Regions from separate parts of the Homo sapiens genome. Here regions 2, 3 and 4 are each linked to region 1. Evidence: promoter capture Hi-C in 16 types of primary human blood cells and fetal thymus (Javierre and others, 2016). All regions are on one chromosome and are shown on one strand. Each heading gives the region's core, a stretch centred on a gene start or on the middle of the fragment in contact. The rest is flanking DNA. Distances are from core to core; before and after follow the strand shown. Region 1 holds the start of IFIH1 (interferon induced with helicase C domain 1). Region 2 holds the start of TANK (TRAF family member associated NFKB activator). Region 3 overlaps TANK (TRAF family member associated NFKB activator). Region 4 overlaps PSMD14-DT (PSMD14 divergent transcript).

The links. Contacts are between HindIII fragments. The CHiCAGO score rates a contact against its expected background, and 5 or more counts as called.
Region 2: the fragment with the promoter of TANK here is called in contact with the fragment with the promoter of IFIH1 in region 1 in 1 of 17 cell types (non-activated CD4 T cells); the score reaches 5.1 in non-activated CD4 T cells.
Region 3: a contact is called between a fragment that was not itself captured here and the fragment with the promoter of IFIH1 in region 1, in 1 of 17 cell types (fetal thymus). The highest score is 5.2, in fetal thymus.
Region 4: a contact is called between a fragment that was not itself captured here and the fragment with the promoter of IFIH1 in region 1, in 5 of 17 cell types (activated CD4 T cells, erythroblasts, non-activated CD4 T cells and 2 more). The highest score is 8.0, in activated CD4 T cells.

Annotation. Positions count from the first base shown.
Region 1 is chr2:162,317,058-162,320,115 of GRCh38, reverse strand. It overlaps IFIH1 (interferon induced with helicase C domain 1), which reads left to right and starts at 1,432. Exons shown (of 16, transcript NM_022168.4): 1 at 1,432-2,261. The coding sequence starts at 1,809. It also overlaps a transcript of GCA not described here. RefSeq lists enhancers at 200-1,399, 968-1,517 and a silencer at 1,548-1,637. The HindIII fragment of the contact is 6,386 bases long and covers 1-2,194 here.
Region 2 is chr2:161,158,924-161,161,981 of GRCh38, reverse strand. It overlaps TANK (TRAF family member associated NFKB activator), which reads right to left and starts at 1,554. Exons shown (of 8, transcript NM_001199135.3): 1 at 1,496-1,554. TANK-AS1 (TANK antisense RNA 1) reads left to right here and starts at 1,692. Exons shown (of 3, transcript NR_187173.1): 1 at 1,692-1,850; 2 at 2,746-2,817. RefSeq lists an enhancer at 1,081-1,844. The HindIII fragment of the contact is 6,780 bases long and covers 1-3,058 here.
Region 3 is chr2:161,217,875-161,220,932 of GRCh38, reverse strand. The region is part of intron 4 of TANK (TRAF family member associated NFKB activator); the gene reads right to left. Among named protein-coding and RNA genes, the nearest start is that of LINC01806, 25 kb to the left of the region's middle. The HindIII fragment of the contact is 3,065 bases long and covers 1-3,000 here.
Region 4 is chr2:161,239,128-161,242,185 of GRCh38, reverse strand. The region is part of intron 3 of PSMD14-DT (PSMD14 divergent transcript); the gene reads left to right. Among named protein-coding and RNA genes, the nearest start is that of LINC01806, 4.1 kb to the left of the region's middle. RefSeq lists silencers at 2,885-2,954, 3,045-3,058. The HindIII fragment of the contact is 5,710 bases long and covers 1-3,058 here.

The DNA.
Region 1 (3,058 bases), core at 183-2,682:
CAACTCCCAGGAGAGATGTCATCAAGAGCCCACCAGTTGTGAGTAGTGTACTAGTTACTATGTAAATATATCCCTTCTTCAAGCAGCTTACAATCCTTCAGGGGTAGAAAAAGCCTTGCTACATAAGATAATTAGAGAATAAAATAAGACATGTTACCATAAAGTGCTCATTTGGATATTTTGTATGCCCCTAGTAAACACTCACCAAGACTCTGTACTTCTATTATCCTGTTCAAAGCACTATCAGGTTTTCCTGGCCTACACAGACTTTATTGAATGTACTTTGCTAACAGATTATTTTTCCTAAATATGTCTCTTTGATAACCTAAATGATCTCTCCATCCTTTATATAATTCTGGACCATGAGATTCTAGTTATGGTGCGTATGTGCCTACCACCCACAGTCACATGTGGCTACAGAATGCCTTCAGAATGAGTAGTAACCTTAAGGACTCACATTTATGTGGCTTCTGTACCAAAATGAAGCTGCCATTTTTCAGTGTGAATATGTTTTTTTTCTCTCATGACATAGACAAATGTTGATGTTTACTACAAGTTGGTACATTAGTTGCTAATTAAGTTCCTAGCTGCTCCAGCCAAAACTTGCTGTATTGAATCCAAGAAAAGAATGGCAGCTATATCAAAAATAAGTTGTTGGGGGATTTTTTTGTTTTGTTTTATTAAAGGAAAGTTGTATATTAAAGAATATAGGGAACTTACAAGCTGGGATCTAGGAAACTTTAAGTCTTGGCTTCCTTCTAAGCTGAGTTGGTGGTTCAAGTCCATCCACATCTGTTACCAGGTCCTGGTCAAAGCTGCATAAATACCAGCAATCTAAATATGAGGCAGTAAAGTTAACTGTTTATTGTTACTCACTTTTTCGAACCCACCTCCAAATTCCCAGGGAAACAAGTTAGTGTTTGGGAACCCACAGGAGGTCAGGTTTATTTTAGGAAGGACTTCCTCCTGTCTTCTCCACATCTCTGCAAAGATGTCTTCTGAGCTTCATCTCTCACCTGTCCCTCGCAGTCTCACCACCCTCAGCCAGGCCTGCCTACATTCACCAGCCGAGGGTAACTCCCTGTTCACGTCCGGGTCTGTGGCAGTTTCTGTTCACTTCCCCTTTGGAAAGTCCCAAATCACATGCTTTTATGCCCTGCACATTTTGGCCTACAAAGGACCTTATTGTTAAGGCAGAACCTGCTGGGAAAACAAAATATCCGCCGGAGGAGCTTTGCTAGAGCGTTGGTCTTGGTGTCAGAGAGAATTCGCTTTCCTTTTCTGTTTCCCGCGGTGTCCTTAACCAAAGGCCTCCTCTCTTCACCCGCCCCGACCAAAAGGTGGCGTCTCCCTGAGGAAACTCCCTCCCCGCCAGGCAGATTACGTTTACAAAGTCCTGAGAAGAGAATCGAAACAGAAACCAAAGTCAGGCAAACTCTGTAAGAACTGCCTGACAGAAAGCTGGACTCAAAGCTCCTACCCGAGTGTGCAGCAGGATCGCCCCGGTCCGGGACCCCAGGCGCACACCGCAGAGTCCAAAGTGCCGCGCCTGCCGGCCGCACCTGCCTGCCGCGGCCCCGCGCGCCGCCCCGCTGCCCACCTGCCCGCCTGCCCACCTGCCCAGGTGCGAGTGCAGCCCCGCGCGCCGGCCTGAGAGCCCTGTGGACAACCTCGTCATTGTCAGGCACAGAGCGGTAGACCCTGCTTCTCTAAGTGGGCAGCGGACAGCGGCACGCACATTTCACCTGTCCCGCAGACAACAGCACCATCTGCTTGGGAGAACCCTCTCCCTTCTCTGAGAAAGAAAGATGTCGAATGGGTATTCCACAGACGAGAATTTCCGCTATCTCATCTCGTGCTTCAGGGCCAGGGTGAAAATGTACATCCAGGTGGAGCCTGTGCTGGACTACCTGACCTTTCTGCCTGCAGAGGTGAAGGAGCAGATTCAGAGGACAGTCGCCACCTCCGGGAACATGCAGGCAGTTGAACTGCTGCTGAGCACCTTGGAGAAGGGAGTCTGGCACCTTGGTTGGACTCGGGAATTCGTGGAGGCCCTCCGGAGAACCGGCAGCCCTCTGGCCGCCCGCTACATGAACCCTGAGCTCACGGACTTGCCCTCTCCATCGTTTGAGAACGCTCATGATGAATATCTCCAACTGCTGAACCTCCTTCAGCCCACTCTGGTGGACAAGCTTCTAGTTAGAGACGTCTTGGATAAGTGCATGGAGGAGGAACTGTTGACAATTGAAGACAGAAACCGGGTAGGTGTCTGTTCAGATGGAGCTAGCCTTTTAGGCAGATTTTGCAAAGCAGGCTTCCTTGTGCGTTTGCCCCTTTCCAAATGTGCTTGACCTCTTTGGGCAAATCTAGTTTCTTCCTTTGAGAAGACAACATCTAGGCACTTTAAGACAATTTTAAAAATTTAAACACAAAAGAACTACTTTTCTAATGTTTTCACTGAAGTAAAAAGGAGTTAACTCTAGAATCGTAATGTGTATTAACAGGTAACTTTTATTGAACACTTACTATGTGCAGTTGGTATCATTTTCAAAATGTATTACTACAGTTCATGTTCAGAGTAACCCACTGAGGCTCCTAATGTTATTAACTCCATTTTACAGATGAGAAACCTGAGGCAGGTTAAATAATTTGTCCAAGGTCTCCCAGGAAAAACAGTGGCAGAGCTAAGAATTTAGCTTGTGATAGTGTTGAATGTTTTTCTTATTTAATGTAGTTCCATGGAGCAGGGGTTAGTAAACTACGGCCCATGGGCTAAATCAAGCCTGCTACTGTTTTTTTCAGGCCCACAGGCTAAGAATGGTCTTCAGATTTTTCAATTTTTAATTTTCAGTGTTCATAAAGTTTTATTGGAACACAGTCATGCTCGTTTGTTTACATATTGCTTGTGGCTGCTTTTCTACTCCAAAGGCAATTGGATGGAGACTGTGTGCCCTTAAAGCCAAAAATATTTATTATCTGGCATTTTAGAGAAAAAGTTTTCCAATCTTTGCCCTACATTACACTTTGTGCCATTTAGTCTTAGCCCAAATGGGTAAAT
Region 2 (3,058 bases), core at 305-2,804, 1.2 Mb after region 1:
AATCATAAAAAGAGAATTAACAGGCAATATAGGAGAAGATTTTAAGAATTTTTGAGTGGGGACTACCTTCTTACCTGAGATAAAAAGCCTGGGCATTTTAAACCAAAGCATTGATAATTCTTGAAAATATTTGCCATATATTTCACAAAGGATTAATGAAATCTGTAGTCTAATGAGAAACAGATAATTTTGAAGAATACTGGGCAATATATACGGACAGGACATAGTAAGTGACAGTTAACTATAATTTGGTACATCTACACAATGCAGTACCACGCCAACATTACAATAAAATAGAGCTACATATGGCAAGACTTTCACCATATATATATATTTAATCTGAAACAGATTATCGAACAGTATGCATAATCTCATTTTCATAAGAAAGCAAAATAACATGGTTATGCACATACAGGAAAGATGTGGAAGGCTTGGATTACAACTGGGGAGAGGACTGAGAAGGATTTCACTTCCTGCTTTGCACATAGTTGTATTATTTGAGGATCCCTCCTCTCTCAAATGAGGACACAATAATTTTTAACAGAATGCACTGCTTGCTTCTCTGCTACCTCTCGTTTGGGTGTGTATTCCAACCGCGGTAAGAAGGCAGGTCATTTTCTTTTCCTTCAATTTCACGTCGCTTCTTCACTTCCTTTACTACCATCTCTCCCTTATTATAACTTGTCAAAAGCATCTCCTGTGAGGTGAGATAAACACCACTTTACATAGCAAGGCTGCTTTACTTTTGCTCGTTATAGCATAACAATAAAGGCACAGCTCTTCTTTGATTATCCTCCCCCTTTCTACTTCTAGAAAAGCACAGCTTTTTTGCCTGTAACTCGTTGCTAGTCAGTTTACACCGGCGTGAGGACTCTACCTAACGCCTGGGTTCCCACTGTGGGCGGGGTTGGCTTCTGTTCTTCCTGCCTTGGCCACCCACTCCCTCCGTGACCCTCTGGGAAGTTACCCAACTTCTCATTGACCAGGCTATGATGACACCCCACAGGAAGGCAGAGGGGAATTGTGCAACCACCTTGGGAAAACAACAGAAAGAACCAATTAAGTTTTCGAAAGAGTAACCACGATACTACTTGATTCTAGGAGGCAGTCTCTCTCCCGAAGGGAAGTCGGGAATGTTCCTGGAGGGTCCACTGCTCACCTCGACACCGCAGGCCCTTCCACCCCCATTTCCCGGGCAAAGCAGCCGGGACGAGTCCCTCCCTTGAAGCCGTTGGGGCAGAGGCCGACGATGCTATGCTGACATCGCGGGCCCGGAAACCAACCCACAAGGAGTCCGCTCCGGGGGAAGGACTCGCGTGGTTTCTCCCGCACAAAATCCCTCCCCAAACTGCAAATTGGTTGTCTCCGCTGCTCCTCGGCTTCTCTCCCTGCGGCGCCCCTACTGTCAGCGCGTCCCTCTCGCTCACGCATACAAATTCTCCGACGTCGTGCTTGACGGATTCGGACACACCAATTCACAAAGTTTCTTACTCACACAGTTCACGCTTTCAGCTGCGTTCCCTCTCCCCTCAGGTCGCCGGCGCCTGGCCGAGTGACTCCAACCGGAAGTTGCATTTTGTTCCAGTTCAGAGGGCAGTGCCTGCGCGCGGAGCCATTAACTCTTCACCTCCACCCAACAAGGCCAGGGCCCTTCCGCCCTGCCCCACCCAGCCCAGGGCTCTTCTGCCCCGCCCCTGCCCGCCCCGCCTAGCGCCCTCCCCCAGCCCTGCCCAGCCAAGTCCCCGCCTCTTAGAAAAAAAAAGCGTCAGCAGCGGAAGAGAATCCTATGTCAAGTGTAAAGGTCACTTGTGAGTCTTTGCTGGATTTTTTTGCCAAACGATAAATAACCGGTAAATAAATAACCAGTAAATAAATAACATCACCCTATATATGAGTTAGAGTACACAAGAATCACCTGAGAAACAAAATGTAGTTTCACCAACCGACTCCTACAGCTTTCATTTCAGAGCAACTGGAGTGAAGCCCAGGAACCTGCATTTTCAACAGATCCTCGTAAATTTATGTAATTAAACGTGGTTAAAGTCCACACTCTGAGAAACACTACATATACACATACCCATTTGGTTTCTCCCCAACTGGTAGTATTTTTCACTAAATGTATTTGTTAAAGAGGAATGGCTGGAAATGGAGGTGGAACTTTATTAGAAAATTTCCCATGAATTAAGACTTTCCCATTATTCCAATTCCTAGCCATGCATGAATATTATCTAAGATTCATATCTTAGATACCGCAAGAAAGATATCTTTTCCCTTTAGGGCAAGAGGATGAGGTCTGGCTGCCCCAATTTCTCCCTGTATTTCTGAATCATGGATGTTTACACATCTTTCCTTAGGCCAGTAAGTCCAAGGATTTAAAAACCTGCCAAGTTGCAGTGCATTCTGTCTAGTTATCTTGAATGTTGCTGTATACTTTTAAAAGTCAAAGCCTAAATATATTTGAAACAATGTTTTTAACAAACAGAAACTTCTTATATATAACGTTTTGACCAGTTGAATAGTTTTCTTGTAATAAGTAATTGAGTTAAACATCACAATACAGTACTGCTTTAAAAAAATTATTTAAACTTTTTTTGAGGGCAGTTTTAGATTCACAGCAAAATGGAAAGGAATGTCCAGAGATTTTCCATATACTTTCTGCCCCGACACAAGCATAGCCCTTCCCCATTATCAACATCCCTCACCCCAGTGTGATGAAAAAAAGCTGTTATAAATATCTGTGTGCAGGTTTTTTTGTGCGGACATAAGTTTTCATCTCCTTTGGATAAATACCAAGTAGTATGATTGCTGGATCATAAGGTAAGAGAATGTTTAGTTTTGTAAGCAATTGCCAAATTGTCTTCCAAAGTGGCTACCATTTTGCATTCCCACCAGGAATGAATAAGAGTTCCTGTTGCTCCAAATCCTTGCCAGCATTTGGTGTTGTAAGTGTTCTGGATTTTGGCCATTCTAATAGATGTGTGTCATATTTTATTGTTGTTTTAATTTGCATTTCCCTGATGACATATGACGTGGAGGATCTTTTCATATGGCTATTTAT
Region 3 (3,058 bases), core at 219-2,718, 1.1 Mb after region 1:
TAAGGAGGAGAAAAAAAAGTGGTTAATATTTCATTAGTCCAAATCAGGCTTTATTATTGATGCAAAAATAATCAAAAATGTTTTTGTTTCCCATTCTAGGATATGTTAGATATCAACCTCTCAAAGAAAGAAATGTACATTTTCCTTAACACCTGCTTTTGTTATAGTTGATACTAAAAGTGAAATTATTTTATTCCTTTTATAAAAAATTGGAAAGATACAGAAAAGAAATAAAAATTGTCATTTGAAACCATATTTTTTCTTAAAAATTTTAAGCAATTAAAGTCAGCAAAATAAAATTGAGTTACAGAATTTTTTTTTCCTTTTTTGAGACAGAGTCTCGCTTTTGTTGTCCTGGCTGGAGTGCAGTGGCGTGATCTTGGCTCACTGCAACCTCCATCTCCTGGGTTCAAGCAATTCTCCTGCCTCAGCCTCCCAAGTAGCTGAGATTACAGGTGCTCGCCACCATGCCCGAGTAATTTTTGTATATTTAGTAGAGACAAGGTTTCAACATGTTGGTCAGGCTGGTTTCGAACTCCTGACCTCAGGCAATCTGCCCACCTCGGCCTCCGAAAGTGCTGGGATTACAGGCGTGAGCCACCGCGCCCAGCTGAGTTATGGAATTTTTAAAGATAATTCTGACTAAACTCTTTAACAAGATGTATATTCTCTCATATGTATGTAAGAAACCTAAACTTTAAAAGGCTTCTATTAAGTAAAGAAGGTTAGTTTTCAATGATACATATTTCACTTAACTCCAGTGTTCATATCAAAGACTCCCTTTAAACTTTAGTTACGATCCTTGCATGCAAAGGAATATTTATTTTTAGCTAGCTTAGGCAACTGAGTGTAGTCAATGTTTTATTTCGTTTCGGGATGAGGCTAAATAGAAATATGCTTTTAAAACAGAAACGAGAATCCTTACTTGGATCAATGTAAACCAAGAAGTAAGCCAAGGTGGGATGGGATGGATTGGTAGAGGGAATATAAACTATGGAATAGGTATAAATGTTAGCTTGATAAAATTCACTACAGAAAAAGGAAAAGTAAGTAGTAGGAAAAAAACTGAAAATAAAGATTCATTTGTCACTTAGATTTTTGAGAACTAAGAATGAAATGTTAAAGGAGGAACTGAGGTTGAATATTTCCTTACCAGTCTACATATACTGAGACAAAAGATGTTATAGTGAAGTCAAGCACTGGATACAGCTGAATCAGGGAGAAAGTGAAAAAAGGGCTGAGACAGAAAAAGATTAAGGTATAAAACAGGACCAAAAAAAAAATTACAAAAAGATATTTGATAAGAATAAACATAAAAGAATAGTACATAAAAGTTTGAGGATAAAAGATAAAAAAATAGAATATTGTATTTAATCTAAAAGAACTTACGGCCATATAAAATCTATGGTTCTCTCACCCTCATTAACATTCCTGAAAATCTAGCAAAGCAAGAGAAACACAAATCCTAGGAGCCTTGTCTGTTCTGTGTGATACAGTGTGCTAGGCAAACCCACTGCCAGTGTGGGAACAACTCCAGGGCAAAATGGGATCCATCCCAGAGTTCTGAAGGAAGTGGCAAGAAAATAAACAATATAAAAATAAAATTAAACACCCTAATTACTTCCAAGTTCTTTATTGGGTTGTGGTTTAACATAACCCATCCCCACAATCTCTACTGATTCAATGCTACAATAAAACATATTGTTCAGAAAAGGTAAAATCCTTTGCCAGTACTGCCACAATTACTGTAATTTCAATTCTATCAAAGTTAATTTGTAGAATGAGATGAATACTTTTCTACTATCTGTCTTCTAAGTCTTTCACTTTGTATTAGGTACCTTTTGCATATATCTTTCTGATTTCTTTAAAGGGAAGAAATATTTAATTGTGGACATGCTTTTTTAATGCAAAATAGAAACTGCATAACTTCAGTGAGCAATTTAATTAAGATTTCTCACACTCCTTTCACTCTTTCCCCAAACACTACATTTAAAATGAACTGATCTGTGCTGTGCATGGTGGTGTGCTCCTGTAATCCCAACTACTAGGGAGGCTGAGAGGGAGGAGTTTGAAACCAGCCTGGGCAACACAGCAAGAACTCATCTCAAAAAAGAAAAAATGAACTGATTTGGAAAAATCCTTTAACTACAAATTTAGTGTTATGCCACTACACCATGAAGAACAGAAGCTATCTTCTTGAAAATAGCTATTATTTAAGCAATTTGCATGTATTACTTATTTAACTGAAATCACAAAAGCTGCTTATTTTGAGATGGAGGTCTTGCAACGTTGAGCAGACTGGAGTCAAATTTCTGGACTCAAGCAGTCTTCCTGCTGCAGCCTCTGAAGTAGCTGGGACTACAGGTGCACGCCACTGCACCTGGCAAGCCACAAAATCTTCTGAATTACGTATTTAATTATGATTTTTAAATTTGCTTTGAAGAGATCAAATAATTTGTGTATAGTTTGGCAGGCGGAGTAGCTGTGATTGGAACACAAGCCTTTTTGCCCCAGTAGCTTTAACTACTTAGCCATAATGCTTGGCTGCTGGAGAAGCTAAGTGGTACAGTTATCCAGCATAGGGTTGGAGATAAAGAATGGTTACATTTACATATTGCACCAAGGCAAACTAATTTTAAGATTCTAAAATCTTCCTGTCATACAATAAAAAATATATTTATCACTGAGAAGCAGTTACAGGCCATGTTTTGATGCTTAAATATTGCCCAGGGTGGGAGGGGAAACCTTTGGTATAGCCTTTTTTTTGCTGCGTTCTCAAGGATGTATCGTACAAATAGAAATGTACATCCAAAAATAACTTAAGATAGATTTACTCAAGTTTTGCCAAACGAGTCACTTGTTAACATAGGCAATTTGGCAGTATTTTCTTTGACAAAATTTCATAGTATTTCTCAAACTTGGCATAGAAGTTAAGCATTTGACAAAGCATGACAATGGGTGGAGTACCCTACTGGTTAATTCTATCCTCTCTGGAAAGCTTAACTCCCTTCCTGCCTCCCCAGCTATCTTTTAATAAAAGACTGGGTATAGTTATAGC
Region 4 (3,058 bases), core at 223-2,722, 1.1 Mb after region 1:
CAAGATAGTTTTTGAATGTATTCATGGTATAGCCCTAAACAACAAAGGACACATGGGCAAGTGCCAGGATATCCAGGCCTTCTGGATTCCAAGGGGACATTCAACCATGGGAGATGGGTTAAACGTCAAAGGGTTGCATAATCAGGTACAGATTCTCTGAAAATGTGTGAGTGATTTTGAGATAGACATAACCCTCTATAGTCAGGACAAGGGGATAACATGTTTGAGAACTTACTTCAGTCCTATTAGGGGATTGATGCTTCAGAGAAAAGAGGACTACAATAAGATGAAAGCTACAGCTATGCAGTAAATAAACGTGGCATAATCATTCTGAATATTCTAGTGCTTGGTGCACTTTAAAGTGTGTGAATTCATCCATGAGGAGCTCTGAGGATGGAGGAAGTTGGCAATCTAGGAACTGGTCCTAGAAATGACCCAAGAAACTTGCTTCTTTGTATCTTTTTGGTGATAGAAGATGATGTTTCTTTTAATTTGAGGCCTTCTTGAACTGTAAGCTCCCACAATCTTTCGCTAAACAGACTTCATTCACATTCTGAATCTGGTTTTTGTCTCACACATATTAAATTTTACAAAACAGAAAGAAACAATAGAGCTTATTAGGAAAAACTTGTTTTGAATAGTAAATTAAGCATAATGGAAATAGGCACATGTTTTAGCACGGTTTTTTCCCCTTTTTTACCAATTGAACATTTACATCTTTTTCAAAGTGCTGTGATTTTCCCCTTAAGTCTTAAGCTGGCACCACACACTTTCAACAAATGAGACTTACATCACTTGTATCTGCTGAGAGAAATCATTGTAATACTGTGGATTCCAAATGCACAGCCTTCCAAAAAAGAGTTTTAGTCACCCCTAAACTGTATTAATCAAATCAATGTGGCATTCTAAGAATCCAAAGAACTACTTAATTTCAAAGACAGTGTAAATCAACTGGCAGCTCTGACTGATTTCAAAATATGCCGTTTTCAGAGACTGGAAACCTGTATATTCAGAGGTACACCTGACTACATGGTGTGTTATTAAGAGATATGCCCCAGGTGGAGGAATCTTCAAAGCCAATATATTTTCTTTATAACTGGTGTCAAATTGATGTATATATTAAAAAATCTTGGAAAATGATCTCAAAAAGGAAGTAACAGCCCAATGAGCCATATGTTCAGGGAACCTAACAGGTTTCCATTGGGACCAAATTTCACTTCACCTTTTTGTCCTTATGTGCAAATAAAAACTTATCTGTAAATACACCGTTAAAACAGTCATGCAAATTTGTGAGGTCTGTATACTGAGAGGAAATTACACTAAGCCTGTATAAACCAAGTTATTGGAAGATAAATAATTTGGTGAGATACATAACAACATGGGATTGAACTAAATTTGTTTGAGCTCTGTAGATTCACAGCTTTAGAGAGACATTGCTTCTACAGAATTGGTTAATGAAGCAAAGGCTGGTGAATAGTTAATAAATTGCTTAATTTTGATGCTGATGGAACATCTGAATCTCCACGTTTACATGAATAAATATAAAGTTAAAATTTGTTTTGCTGTTAGATAGGTTGCTATTTTAACAGATTCAGACACAAGGGAATTTTCCAAATGCCAGCTAATACTGTAGCATCAAGAAGTCTGTATATGCCAAGGGCAGAGGCCTGCTTAGTGGTTTTCCAAAGAGTGGAAAGCAGAAAGCATTAACATTTACTTACACAAAATCCTTTATGTAACTCTTCTAAGATTTTTCAACTTAAAAACTTTAAAACGTTCTGTATGATTTTAGTAGATCTGAAGTTTGCATTCAGCTATTCTATTGGTATGCCTGGGCATATTCTAAAAGGAAAAATGATTCACTCTGCACTTGTGTAGTTTTTCACATGACTAGGATCAATGAGGATGGTATAAAAATACCAAAATTTACTCATTTTAATTTCATTTTTGTGTACTTTTATCATGAAATATTACAAAGCAGAATAATATAAATGAAACCTTTGTGTATATATGACTGAGCTTTAGCAAACCTTATTTTAAATTGATTTTTTAAAAAGGAACAATGGTGTGTATAAAGTTATGCAAAGGTAGGGGTCAGCAGAAGAAACAATTACACTGCACAGGTTTTTAGTTACTCTGGAGGTCCATCTATGGCTTACGGGGAAGGAAGTTTTATGATGTTTATAAGGGTAGTTTATGTAAACCCGTAACAGTAAAAATATTTTAATGGTAGGAATAAAAGTGCCTTTTAAGTGCAACAATCAGCTTTTACGGTCAAAAAGTAACAGGAGGTTGTATGAAATCTCAGGTCCCCGCCTGCATCAACAGGTATGAAAGGCTTTTTTCAGCAGACTCGGGTTCCGATGGGCTCTTTGTCGGAGGGGCGGCCAGGGCGCTGCTGTTTTTGACTAGCTTGTCTCGGGCCAGAGTATAGAACAGAGCGGCCAGGCGGGGAGCTGGGCCTCCAGATCAGGTCCTGCCCCCATCTGCCCCACAGTCTTCGCGGCAGGGGGGAGCGCGGCCCGCTTCTTTCCAGGCCCTTCTCTCCCCGCGACGGTCTTTCGAGGGAACTCTCGAGGCCCAGACGGCCCCTTAATCTAGTCTTGGGGTCAGGAGGTCAGGCCTTGGAAGCACAGCTAATGCTAAGGCCCTTTATGTATCTTCGCTGCGATCATTTAAACCGTGGACCGGTAGCTCTGGCAAAAAAGGGGCTCCAGGGGTCTAAGAGCCGCAGCGCGCGAGGCGTGGCGGGGGGCGCTGACCTCGCCGACTCGCCGCAGGCCAGCGGGGCGCGGCCACTGCAGGGCGGGTTGGGGGCGGCTGGAGGCCTCGGGGTGGCGGCCACGCTCGGGCAGGGCAGGAGATCTGCGCTCAGTCCTGGAGCCCTTCTTGGCCTTTGTGGCCCTGTCACTCTTTTCACCCCTGGCTGGCCCTAGCCCTTTCTGAATTCGCCTGGACTCCCAGTCGCGCTCGCTGGCCGACGCGGTCGATTCACCAGACAGCGAGTGGGCGTGAGAACGCAGGCTCTTCGGCCGCTTCCCCAGTACGTGGATCCCGG